Regions from separate parts of the Homo sapiens genome. Here region 1 is linked to region 2. Evidence: promoter capture Hi-C in human tissues and cell types (Jung and others, 2019). All regions are on one chromosome and are shown on one strand. Each heading gives the region's core, a stretch centred on a gene start or on the middle of the fragment in contact. The rest is flanking DNA. Distances are from core to core; before and after follow the strand shown.

Region 1 (5,977 bases), core at 813-3,312, 220 kb after region 2:
GCTTCAAAGCTTCAAAGGACAGGCTGACTCTCTTGTTAGGGACTAATGCAGTTGCTGATTTTAAGTTGAAGCCAATGCCCATTTGCAATTCTGAAAACCCTAATGCTCTTAAGAATGATGCTAAATCTACTCTGCCTGTGCTCTATCAATGGAACAACAAAGTCTGGATGACAGCACATCTGTTTTCATCATGGCTCACTGAATGTTTTAAGCCACTATTGAGACCTACTGCTAAGAAAAAAAAATATTCCTTTCAAAATATTACTGTTCATTGACAATGCACCTAGTCACCCAAGAGCTCTGATGAACATGTACAAGATTGTTTTCATGCCTGCCAACGCAACATCCATTCTACAGTCCATAAAGCAAGGAGTAATTTCAACTTTCAAGTCTTATTATTTACAAAATACATTTTGTAAGGGTATAATAGCTACCACAGATAGTGAGTCCTCTGATGGATCTGGGCAAAGTCAATTAAGAACCTTCCTGAAAGGAACATTATTCTAGATGCCATTTAGAACATTTGTGATCCATGTGAGGAGGTCAAAATATCAACATTAACACGAGTTTGGAAGAAGTGGGTTCCAGTCTTCATGGATGACTTTGAGGAGTTCAAGACTTCAGTGGAAGAAGTCCACTTCAGTAAATGAAGTCTAGAGATTTCATCTCTAGAAATTTGATCTGAGTCTTTTTTTTTATATCTTCCATGTCTCCACTTAACTTTTGAACATATATAATGCAGCTATAATAAATGTGCTAATGTTCTTGCCTGCCAGTTTTTACATCTGTGTCAATCCTGGGCCAGTTTTAATTGATTTGCAAGCCTGTTAATTTTTTATTTGATGATAGTAATTATGAATATTACCTTGCTGAGTGTTGGACATTTTTGTATTACTATAAATATTCTTGCACTTTGTTCTGAGATGCAGTTAAGTCACTTGGAAACAGTTTGATCATTTTGGTATTTCTTTTAAGATTTGTTAGGAAGGACTAGAGCAGCAGTTAGTCTAGGGCTTACTATTCCCCACTACTGAGGCAAAACCCTTCAGAGTACGTACTCAATGTCTTGTGAAGCATGAGGTTTTCCAGACTGACTGGTCGGAAGAGGCACTATTCTGGCCCTGTGTGAGCACTAGCTATGATTTCCTCTAGTTCCGGTGGTGCTTCCCTTAGCCTTGTATATTTCTTCACAAGCATGCATGGATCACTGCAAATCTCAGGAGTTCTCTGTGAAGTTCTCTCCTTTACTACTTTGCCCTGGACATTCTAACTACCTTGGTCTCTCTGGACTCTTAGTCCAGTTTTCTCAATTCAGAGAGCCCAGCAGGCTCTACTTGGGTTCTCTTCCCTACGCTCTTCCCTATGATGCCCTCTTGTGCTAGGGCAATCATAGACTTCTTCACCCTGCTTCTTTCCCATCTTCTGGCTGCTGTTGCTTGAGGCCCAGTGTCTTGAAAACCACAGTGTCATATAGTGGTGGTGGTGTTGTTATTGTTATGGCTGTTTCAGGCACATGAGAAAAATCCAGTCACTATTGCTCCATATTGCCCAGAAACAGAAGACTATGGCCTGAGGGGTCATCTTGAAGCCTGTTTCTAGGTTGGTGTATTCTAGAAGAGAGGGAGACGGAGGAGGAGGAGAAAAGTGAGACAAGAGGGAAGCGAGAGGGAGAAGGAAAGATGATGCCACAGAGAAGGGAAATAATATCAAGAGGGAAATCTTGAGAGGGCTGTAAGGATGCGATCTAGGCCCCTCATGGAGGGTCTGAATTCACCAGGAACTGGAATACTTCTCCACTGTGATGAGAGGAAAGTCAGGTATATGGGTTCAGATGTAACTTAGTAGAAAGAGTGGTTGGGAGAAGTGCCTTAATTTGGCCTCCTCCAGCAGACCCTGAGACAAGGAGTTGAGTGCAAGTCATTCCTTTAGGAAGGGATCCCAGGAACTACTATTATGGGAGTGGGGAAGTGAGACATTATCAAGCATGTCACCACGGTGAGTAACTGAGGCTTAATGTGGGGGAAAATGCCACGGAGTTATCCTAAATTAGGAGAGCTCGATTATTTTACATCAGCTTCCATTAGCCCTTGGTTGACTGAGGGGCATTAATTTCCCAGCACTTCAGCGCCTTGTACAGGGCAAAGTAGCCCCAGTGGTCAGAGAAAGGCATCAGGCAGAGAAGCAGATGCTGGCAGATCAAGTCCAGCCAGCCTGCCCCCAAATGAGAAGGGGTGAAGGTGGGGCAGCTACAGCATCTCAGCACGTGCTGCAGGGACCGCTGCTGCTTGTGACACAATATTTCACCCATACAATATGATGCCAGGGCTTCATGGGTACAGGGAGATGGAGCAGAGAGGAAACGTTGGTCTCTGCCAGGGTGTCCCAAGTGAGACTACATGGGCCTCACGTGCTACAGCTGTTGCTAATCAGCCTTTCCTGTTAACACAGGCACGCACATGTGTGCACACACACAATTATTTTCCCCACAGCACTCCCACGGCCTTGAGAGTCCACAAGGCTGTATACGGCACAGAGCACAGATATAAGGGGAGACAGCAGAAAGGGATGAGAAGCGCACTAGACACAGAGCCATGAGCTCTGCCTCCACCTCCTGGGAACCCTGTGATGTCAGGAATTGGTGTCCCAGTCGGTAAAAGGGTGCTAACTTACCTCCTAGGATTATTGTGAGAATGAAGAGAAATAGGTGACCATTTTATAAACTTTAGAGGAATTATTATCACCAGAGACCACCTGGTACATGTAAGAAGCCCCAGAGAAAGATAAGCTTCCCAGTAAAATCCACTCAAGATCACAAGAAAACCTCTGGGAGGTCAACTTGATACAGAAAGATTTGATATGGAAAGGGTGGTCTGTGGTCTGGTCGCACCAGCATTGCCCAGGTTCTTGTTAAAAATGCAGAACTCCGATCCCAGCCCACAGAGGAATCTGAGTCTACTGGATCGGAACCTGTATTTTAACAAGATCCCTAGGGGACTCTGGTGCACTTGAAGCCTGGGACTCACTGGCCCTGTGCTTGGGGTCTGGGCCTGCCTCTTTCCCTGACTTACCCCTCTGATTTCTGGGGGCAGCTCAGCTCCCTCCACCGTACAGTTAGGGCTGTGGTCCGGATCTGCTCCAGGGAGAGGCCAGCAAAGCTCTGTATTCTCATTGCTGAGCTGAAAAATTATTATAACTATGCTCATCATAATGATTCTGAAGAAACGAGATGGTAGAATCATACTGAGGAAAGTATGATAATACATTTCTGAAATTTACCATCAAAAATAGTTAAAATTAACAACAATAACAACAACAATAATGTCCTGTTGCTTGATTTATTTGAACGGCAGCAATCCGGAAAAGTCGTCAGTGCACAATGACTCATTCCCTGAGGGTTCTGAATAAGATTCTAAAATCACCACCCATGGTTTTCCTGCACTTTGAAGTGACAGAACAAATGACAGCAGAGATGGGCACTGTCTCCTGAGTCCAGAATGGATGACACACACGCGTCTCACAACAATAACATCCTCATCTAAAAACAGCCTGAAAGGAGGTTATTTCTGGGCTTTGCTTGTTAGTAAGCATTTGTGCACCTGTGGGCAGAGACCTAAGACCAAGATGGTTTGGGTTTTTTTTCTATATAGTCAATCAACAAACTTATTGATGCCTTTTCCATGCCAGGGCCTGTTCTAAGGACATGAGATTAATTCAACCCTCAGAGGAAAACCCTCACAGAGCAAAAATTGGGATAACAAATGAGAAAAGCCATAAATGAGAGACAGATGAGGAGGCTAAGGGAGAAAGACTCTGGGGAAGTGTCCCAAGAGGTGACCACGGAGATGATGGGTGAGAGGGAAGTGCACTGCATGACGAGGGAAGAGCCGGCACAAGGCCCGGAGGTGGAAGCAGCTTGCAGGGTTCTTCTGGCAGAACAACAATCTAATGCTATGGAAGAAAAATTCAAGACAAGTAGCCTTTTGGATTACATAACAACCTATGGGAAACTCCACAACCCCTGACAATGCTTTGTTGGCATCTGGGAGTGTAACAGCCTCTAGATGACTGCTCTGAGCTCACCGCCCCCAGTCACCTCCCAACCCAAGCTCAGTGTCCCTCCCCACCATTGATGCTTTGCCTGTCTCATTCTTCCCCACCTTTCTCCACATGATAAATTACCCATCTTCCAGCCTCAGCTCTGGAATTGCCTTTTTCTTGATGCTTCCACCTTACTGAAAAAACTGACCCTTCCTCTTCTCAGCATGAATGGGCTGCCAAGGATAGGGAGTAACAAGCAGAGAGAGTAAGTTGAAAGGAAAGGGGTTGATCTTTGTTTGGGACAACTTGAGGCTGACGTACTTTTAGAAAAATTCAGTCAGGGATGTCCCAAGGAAGTAAGTTTTGGCTCAAAGAAGAGAGCAATTGCAGATGTGTATTTGAGAGCCATCATAAAATTGAAGCAAATGCATTTACCTACCTACCTGCTTCTTCCTCTTCTAACAGATGAACCCAGCACCTCTACTAGATTCTGTCCCCTCCCATTATTCAAGGACAGTGCAACAGCAATTCTCTCCTCTCCTGCATCACAAACTTTCTCCTCTCCATTGGATCAATCCCATCAGGAATCCCAATTTCTTACATTAAACAAACAATTCTTGATCCCACTTCCCTTTCCAGCAACTGCCCCATTTCTCTGCTCCTCTTTACAGTGACTCATGAAATTATTTGTACTCTTGGTCTCCAATTCTCTCCTCCCATTCTCCTCCAACTCCACCAAAACTGCTTTTCCCAAGATTGCCAATGACTTCCACATGGCAAATTCCATGAGTCCTCATGTTACTTGACTTAGCAGCAAAAACACTGTCTTTACCTATTTCTGAGACACCACAATCTCCAACTTTACCTCCCATCCTCTGGCTACTTCTGCTCGGTCTTTTCTGGTTCTGCCTCATCTTCCTGACCCCCAGGTCCTTACCACCCCAAGGCTCAGTCCTGAGACCTCTTTTCTTTTCTGTCTACTTGACTTCTCTCCTTGATATCTAGTGGCATCTTGAATTTAATATATCCAAAACTGAGCCCTTGATATTCTACTCTCCAAATTAGATCTTCCCAGTCTTTCTCATCTCAGTTAATAGCCATTCTCTTCTTCCAAGGTGTTCAGAACAAAAACCTTGGCATTAATAGTAACGTCAGCAAAATGGCAGGGTAGGCAGCTTCACAGAAATACCAAAAAACAAGCAGAAACTGTCAGAACCAACTTTGTCAGAACTCCAGAAAACAGTCAAAGGTTTACAGCAACAACTGAACACTGAATCAAGAAGAGGGCAACTCCTGACTGCAGGGTGATTACCAGGGACTGGGGCAGGCAGGAATGAGGAGTTATTGTTTAAAGAAGTTTGTCTGGGTTGATTAAAAAGTTCTGGAGATGGACACTGGTGATGGTTGCACCACAACATGAATGCGCTTCATGTCACTGAACTGTACACTTATTAATGAAAATAACTAAAATGGTAAACTTTATTATGTATATTTTACCACAATAAAAAAATATGATACAGGCAAGCTGTGTGGCATTACTACTCCTTGCCCTGGTCCCGGCTTGGCAGCAGTCTTAAAGACGTCAGCCCACGTTCTATCGTGGATCCTGGTCCCTCTTTCTAGAAGGGGCAGAGGAGACATCATTCTCAAATTATTGTGTAGGTCTGCTCTAATCTGTCTCAGGGCTATTCAAAGGACTGATGCAAGACAGTCTGCTTTGCTTAAGGCAGAATGTACCCAGGCCAGAAAAGTAGCAGACAGTACTCTATAAACATTATAAGGCTGACAAACAAAAACAAAAACAAAAACAAAAAAAACCTGCAGATGCCTGAAGCAAAAGATTACATTTTGGCTGCAACATATAATAGACTGCTGAAAGCCTAGAAGAAAAAGCCAAGGAGAGTGTTTCTTTGGGAAATTAAAGGACTCCAAAGCACTC
Region 2 (5,473 bases), core at 1,173-3,672:
AGAGACGGGTTTCATAGAATTACCAACCGCACCCTGCTGTGCCTGTTTAAATCCTCCAGGAGCTCTCCATTGCCTACAGGCTCAAATCCCCCTTCTCGGCCTGACATTCAAGGCCTTGGTGATTTGGTCCCTGCCTTCCCAGCCTCAAGTTCACTTCCAATTCACCACCCTCAAGACCTTGCGTCTGCTGGTCCACCATGCTGACCACCTGTGCTGTTTTCATGCACAGGTCCTGCACATGCTGATCCTTTTGTGGGAGATTCTTCCTGCCTCCCCTGTGTACCCACTGACTTCAAAACCATGAGCAGGAGGAATCTCCTGTCAGGCCCCTTCTCCGGGTTATTCCCACAGAACCCCTCTTAGGACTTGTTTTGGCCAGGTGGCTTTCAGGGAGGACCCAACCCTCTTTAGGAAGTGTCCTCAGTGCCCAGGCCAGCCTTGCTCTGAAAACTGAAGCATGAACTCTTAACTGCATCCCCTGTGTTGACCCAGGAGTTATGATTAAGAAGAAGACTGATCTGGACTTTACCACCACAAACTGTCATTTAAAAAGTAAGAGGAGAAAAGGTCAATCCCCCTCCCTTCCCTCTCCATTTTTGACTCATTTATCAGCTTTTGCCTTTCCTGGTGTTGGAGGAAGGGTAGGTGGAAGCCCGGTGGCGGTTGCATTGCAGCCTTCCTGGGGAGCAAAGTAGTGCCTCGGAATAGGTCAGGTCAGAATGGAGGTGTAGGTTAAACATCAAAGTGTTTCTGGGTTCTGGGATCTGAAGCAGTCAGCCAGAACAGAAGAGGCTATCAATACCTCCCCTTCCAGAAGGGAAACTGAGGCCGGAGAGGGAAAGGAAAATGCCCACAGTTGTTTCTTTCCCAGGTTAGCGGCCTGTGCCCTTCCATCATGTCTGCAGCATCCGACAAAGTTCTAGGTTAAAGACTGGAGTGAGCAGTGGGGAGGAGGGTGTTTACGGTTATCTTTGCGACTTAGGCTCAAAAGCCCAGCAGGCTCCTGCAGCTCTGAGCACCCCCCCCCCCCCACCTCCGGTCAGCCCCAGGCACTGCAAGTCTAGACTTATCCGAAGGGCAGGGCGCACAAAGATGAAAGAAGAATCGAAGGTCTTGAGTCACCTCCTCGCCAGGCCAAGTGTGGGCTGGCGCTGCTCTCCGCCCGGCTCCAGAGGCGCGGGTTATTCCCACCGCACGCCCCGAGCCGCGAGGGAGTTCTCGCCCTGTCCGTGCCAGAGTGACCGCGACTCCGCGAAGCTGAGCAACTTGCCAGCGCCGCACAGGGGCCAGTGGCCGTCCCAGTTGAAACCTGTGTATGTGAGGCTCCCACGGCCCCCAGCCCAGCTCCGGGTCCTGTGAGCCGGCGCCTCGGGCATGCCCAGATCTGGACTGGCAGTCCCCCTCTCCCCTACCGGGTCCGAGGGTTGGCCCCCTACCCCGGGGGCGGGCTGCAAACGGAGAGTGGGTCTCAAAGCGGAGCCTGTCTCCCTACCAAACAGACGCAACTCTGGATCACACTCTTTCCAAGAAGCGCGGGGAGGGCAACGCCAGCCGCCCTGTCCCTTCCTCTCCCCAGCCCAGGGCCGGAGCCTGGGACCCACCGCTCGCCTCTTCCTCCCAGCCGGGGTCTGAGGGGGAGTCCGCACGCTCCGCCCAGCCCCTGCCCAGCCAGTCCCCAGGCGCTGCCGATCCCCCGACCACCAATCCCGTCGCAGCCCCTTGCTGTCCTGGGACCTCAGGAGGGGGAGGGGGAGGGCTGTCTGCGCCCCCGGCCGGGTAGCGGTGGGGAGGACTGGGGCTGTTGCCCGAGGAACCGGGAGAAAAGTTTGGAGCCAAGTCGTGGGCCCGAGGGGACGGCGGGGGAGCGGGGGGGTGGGGCGGCGTTGGGCTCTCGGTGCGCACACCCTCTGCGGACACCCAGCCCAGACACGTCGGCAGGCACCGACCACGTACGCGGAGACACGCGATGCGCCCACCGACGCCCACAGCCAAGCGCAGGCCCGCAAACGTGGACACGGGCGCAAAGCAGCCGCGCAAAGCCACGGACACACAAAGGCACCGACAGCGGCGCGTCCCCGACCGCAAATCCACAAAGACCCACAAACGTGAGATGCACGTGTCCGCACAAAGACCCACACGGCCCCTGGGCGTAGCCTTTGTCTCCCGCAAGACCTCTCCCCTGGGTCGGCGTTCCCCACTCCCGCCCAGCCCTAGGCGTCCGACGAAAGTTGAGGGGCCTCGGCGGGACCCAGCCCCGCCCCTGCGCCCGGCGTCCCCAGCCCGCCCTCCGAAGGGGCCGCGAGGCTAGGATCGGGGACTTGGGATCTTCAACCGCAGCGCGGACTCTCGCCCCGCCCGGGGAACTGCACTCACCTGGAAGCCTGCGCCACAGCCGCCTCGGCACGCTCACCCCGGCGGCCCGGCCGCGGGCCCTCCGGCCAGCGCTTTTCTCCGCGCGGCGCGGCCCGCCCCCCGGTCCCCGCCCGCAGCCAGGCTCCCCCCTGCCGGGCGCCGGGTGGCGGCTCGGGCCGGCCGCGGGGCGGCTCAGGGAGTGTCGCCAAAGTGCCAGCCTCTCTCGGCGCGCGCCCCGCCCGCGGAGCCTGAGCCGAGCCCGGGTTCCACTCTAGGGAGCGTCTCAAAAGTGCGCTGCTCCCGCCCCCTCTAGTTGGCCTCGCTCACAGCTTCCTGCATCCCGGATCCCTGCCCCCTCCCCCTGCGCGCCCCAGCAATCTAAGCAGATGGCCGCACTGTCGGGAACATCTGGAGGTCGCCGGAGTACGTGCCTGTGTATGTGTATGTGTGTGTATGACTGTGTGTGTGGAAAGAGAGAGGGAATTAGTTGCTAGTAAGAAAGAGATTTGGTGGGTGGGTGAGGGCTTCCTCTTTGCTTGTTCACCGCCCCTCCCCATTTTTTTTTAAAGAGTGAAAGAGGTTCAGGGACTACCGGGAGCAAGAAACCAAGAATCTGAAGCAGAGAAAGACTGGCTGAAAGACGAACCCACAGAGAAGAGAGAGCCCGGCTCGGGCAGAAAAGCTGGCAGGAGAGGAGAGAGAAAGTCAACAGATTGAGTTTTTCTTTTAGGAGGAAACCATTGGCTTCTGGTTAGAGTTCTAAGAAGGGAAACTGGCGTGTGAGTAGGCAGCAGTTTCAGTCTATTCCCCCTGCTGTAGCTCTTGGGCTCTCACCCCTCTTTATGTTAAAAAAAAAAAAAAAGGGCAGGAAAGCATCCAAGACACTTTAAAATGAGGGTTTGCAGGAGAAATGACCTGGTGGACGCATTTCCTAGGAGGGGAGAGTCAGGTGTGTGGGTGGCTCCCAGTCTACACACCCCGACAATGCCTACCTTGGGAGAGGGGCAGTTCACAGGTGGGAGAGTTGATAGAGGCTTTGGTCTTGGGCCCTGGACCTCCCAGGAGCTTCTCCTAGACTTTGGAGGGCCTCGGGGTGCAGAAATTGGGCAATGTACCTCCTGCAGTGGCCCAGACTTGTTAACACACCCAGTCTGCTTGCTGCTTCTTTCCTTATTACTTTTTCTTATTCATTAAAAAAAAAAAAAAAAAAAGGAGTTGCTTGGGCCTGTGTGTGCATGCATGCCGGTCTACTTGGGGAAGAAGGAAGACACTAGAGAGGTGGTGAGGTAGGAGTGGAGACCACTGCCCCAGGCCTCAGGCCAGCAAAATCATCTGCTGCCCAGAAAACAAACTGGTCTTGCAGGTCCTTTCTGCACTCAGAGCCATTGTGTGGTCTTGGGGATGCACTTGGGTTGACACCTGTGGACCCTGCCAGTTAGGAATGTGCAGAGAAAAGGCTAGGAGCCTGGTCTCATATGTGTGGAAGCAGGGAGAACTCCCGTCTCTCCTCTCCATTCATTGTCCTCTCCTGATTAGAATCCCAGCTTTCAGAACTAGGAGTCCTTCTGTGATCATCCAGCTCACACTCCTTATCAGTCTTTGGGATGGCACCATGGGCCCTTTGGTATCCAGTGTCTTCCTCACTGTTGGGCTTAAAAGGGCTGCAGGGATTCAACTCCACAACCCCTGGGACCCATAGAGAGGAGTCGGGCCCCTCCCATTTCCCACCCTCCCATTCCCTCCCCTCTCTAAAGGCTCCTGGCCTAGATGGGAGAGAGACCTGCAATCAGCATCGGGTGAGGGCCAAGCTTGGTCAGGATTCAGGTTCCAGCCCTGCCACTTACCAGCTCTGGGTAACTTTAGGCAAGTTACCTAACCTCTCTGAGACTCAGTGTCTGCAACTGTAGAAGAGGCTATTGTGAGGAATAAACAAGGTAATTTAGGTAAAGCATTAGTCTGGCTCACAGGAAGCTCCTTTGTGTGGTTGCTAAATGTCTTCCGTCAGGGACTGGGGTAGAGACTGGAAAGCCCAGCAGGCTTGGGAGGGGAGGGTGCCCGGGAATGACCTCTGGACTCCCTGGCTTGTCTAGCTTATATTCCTCCTGCTTCCTCCCCTCCCATAGGGACATTCTTTTGAAGGAATGGCGCCCCCCTCCCCTTGCCCTAGACTAACGATTTCCATCCTCTCCTCCATGTGGAATTGTTTAGCGAGTCTCAAGTTCAGCATCTGAGAACTGGAGATGAAAATACCCAACTGCCCGGGAACTCAGGGAAGCTAACTCCCACTGCACTGTGTGTGCAGGTTCTAGCCAGCTGGGCTGGAGGCTCCAGGCCTCACATTTAACATAAAAGTAATCAACAACCCTTCACACTGGCTGGTAGCTGGCAGCAGTTTCTGAGCACTTTCACATTCATCATTTCCCTTGACCTCCCCTTAGGGAGAGGTGGCCTTGAGGGGCTTCAGCTGGTGGATCTCCATGAACTTTACCCACCTCCCCTCATCACTGTGCCTCCAGTTGAGAGTCTCTGTGCCTCTAGACTCTCCTCTTCTGTCTGCTGTCCACATTCCAGCAAGAGTGCCCTTTCTAAACTGCAGATCTGCAGAATGGATCATGACACTTGCCTGCTTAAAACCTTTCAATGGCAAAAGCCAAACTGCTTGGTGTGGCATTCAAGGCCTATGTGATATGCCCCCACCTCACCTTAACTCTCCAGCATCAGTTCTGGCCACCCCCTCTTACACATCCCAAGTTTTAGTCCCCTAGTCACCTAGAAGTAAGGGAAGGGAGGTGGACCTTCTCCATTCTTCATGTCTGTTCAGTGTCTTCGCCCCCAGGGAGTCCTCTCTCTGGCGAAGTTGGCCTCTCCATCTGTGATATTGCCATGTCCTTTGTATATAAGCACCATCATTTTCACCGTTCTCTTCCCCTTCTTGTGATCATCTTGGCCACTGTGACATGTCAGGGACTGTGCTGGATACTTTTAAGATCATGATTTAATCCAAACAACCACACTAGATGGATAGTGGTGCGGCCCAGAAAGGGCAAGAGATCTGTCTGGGGTTACATAGCATGTTCTCTGCGGAGCTGGCACAACATTTAGGGCTCCAGTGCTCTTTCTG

Evidence for each region. Contacts are between HindIII fragments. The study calls those that stand out against the background at their distance.
Region 1: a contact is called between a fragment that was not itself captured here and the fragment with the promoter of TSKU in region 2, in 1 of the 25 tissues and cell types used here (neural progenitor cells).

What each region holds. Positions count from the first base shown.
Region 1 is chr11:76,557,882-76,563,858 of GRCh38, reverse strand. No RefSeq gene overlaps it. Among named protein-coding and RNA genes, the nearest start is that of LINC02757, 70 kb to the left of the region's middle. The HindIII fragment of the contact is 4,663 bases long and covers 1-4,393 here.
Region 2 is chr11:76,780,305-76,785,777 of GRCh38, reverse strand. It overlaps TSKU (tsukushi, small leucine rich proteoglycan), which reads right to left and starts at 2,422. Exons shown (of 2, transcript NM_015516.4): 1 at 2,374-2,422. It overlaps TSKU-AS1 (TSKU antisense RNA 1), which reads left to right and starts at 2,716. Exons shown (of 2, transcript NR_120562.1): 1 at 2,716-2,775; 2 at 2,922-3,197. RefSeq lists a silencer at 2,476-2,565 and enhancers at 2,117-2,761, 2,996-3,185. The HindIII fragment of the contact is 14,629 bases long and covers 1-5,473 here.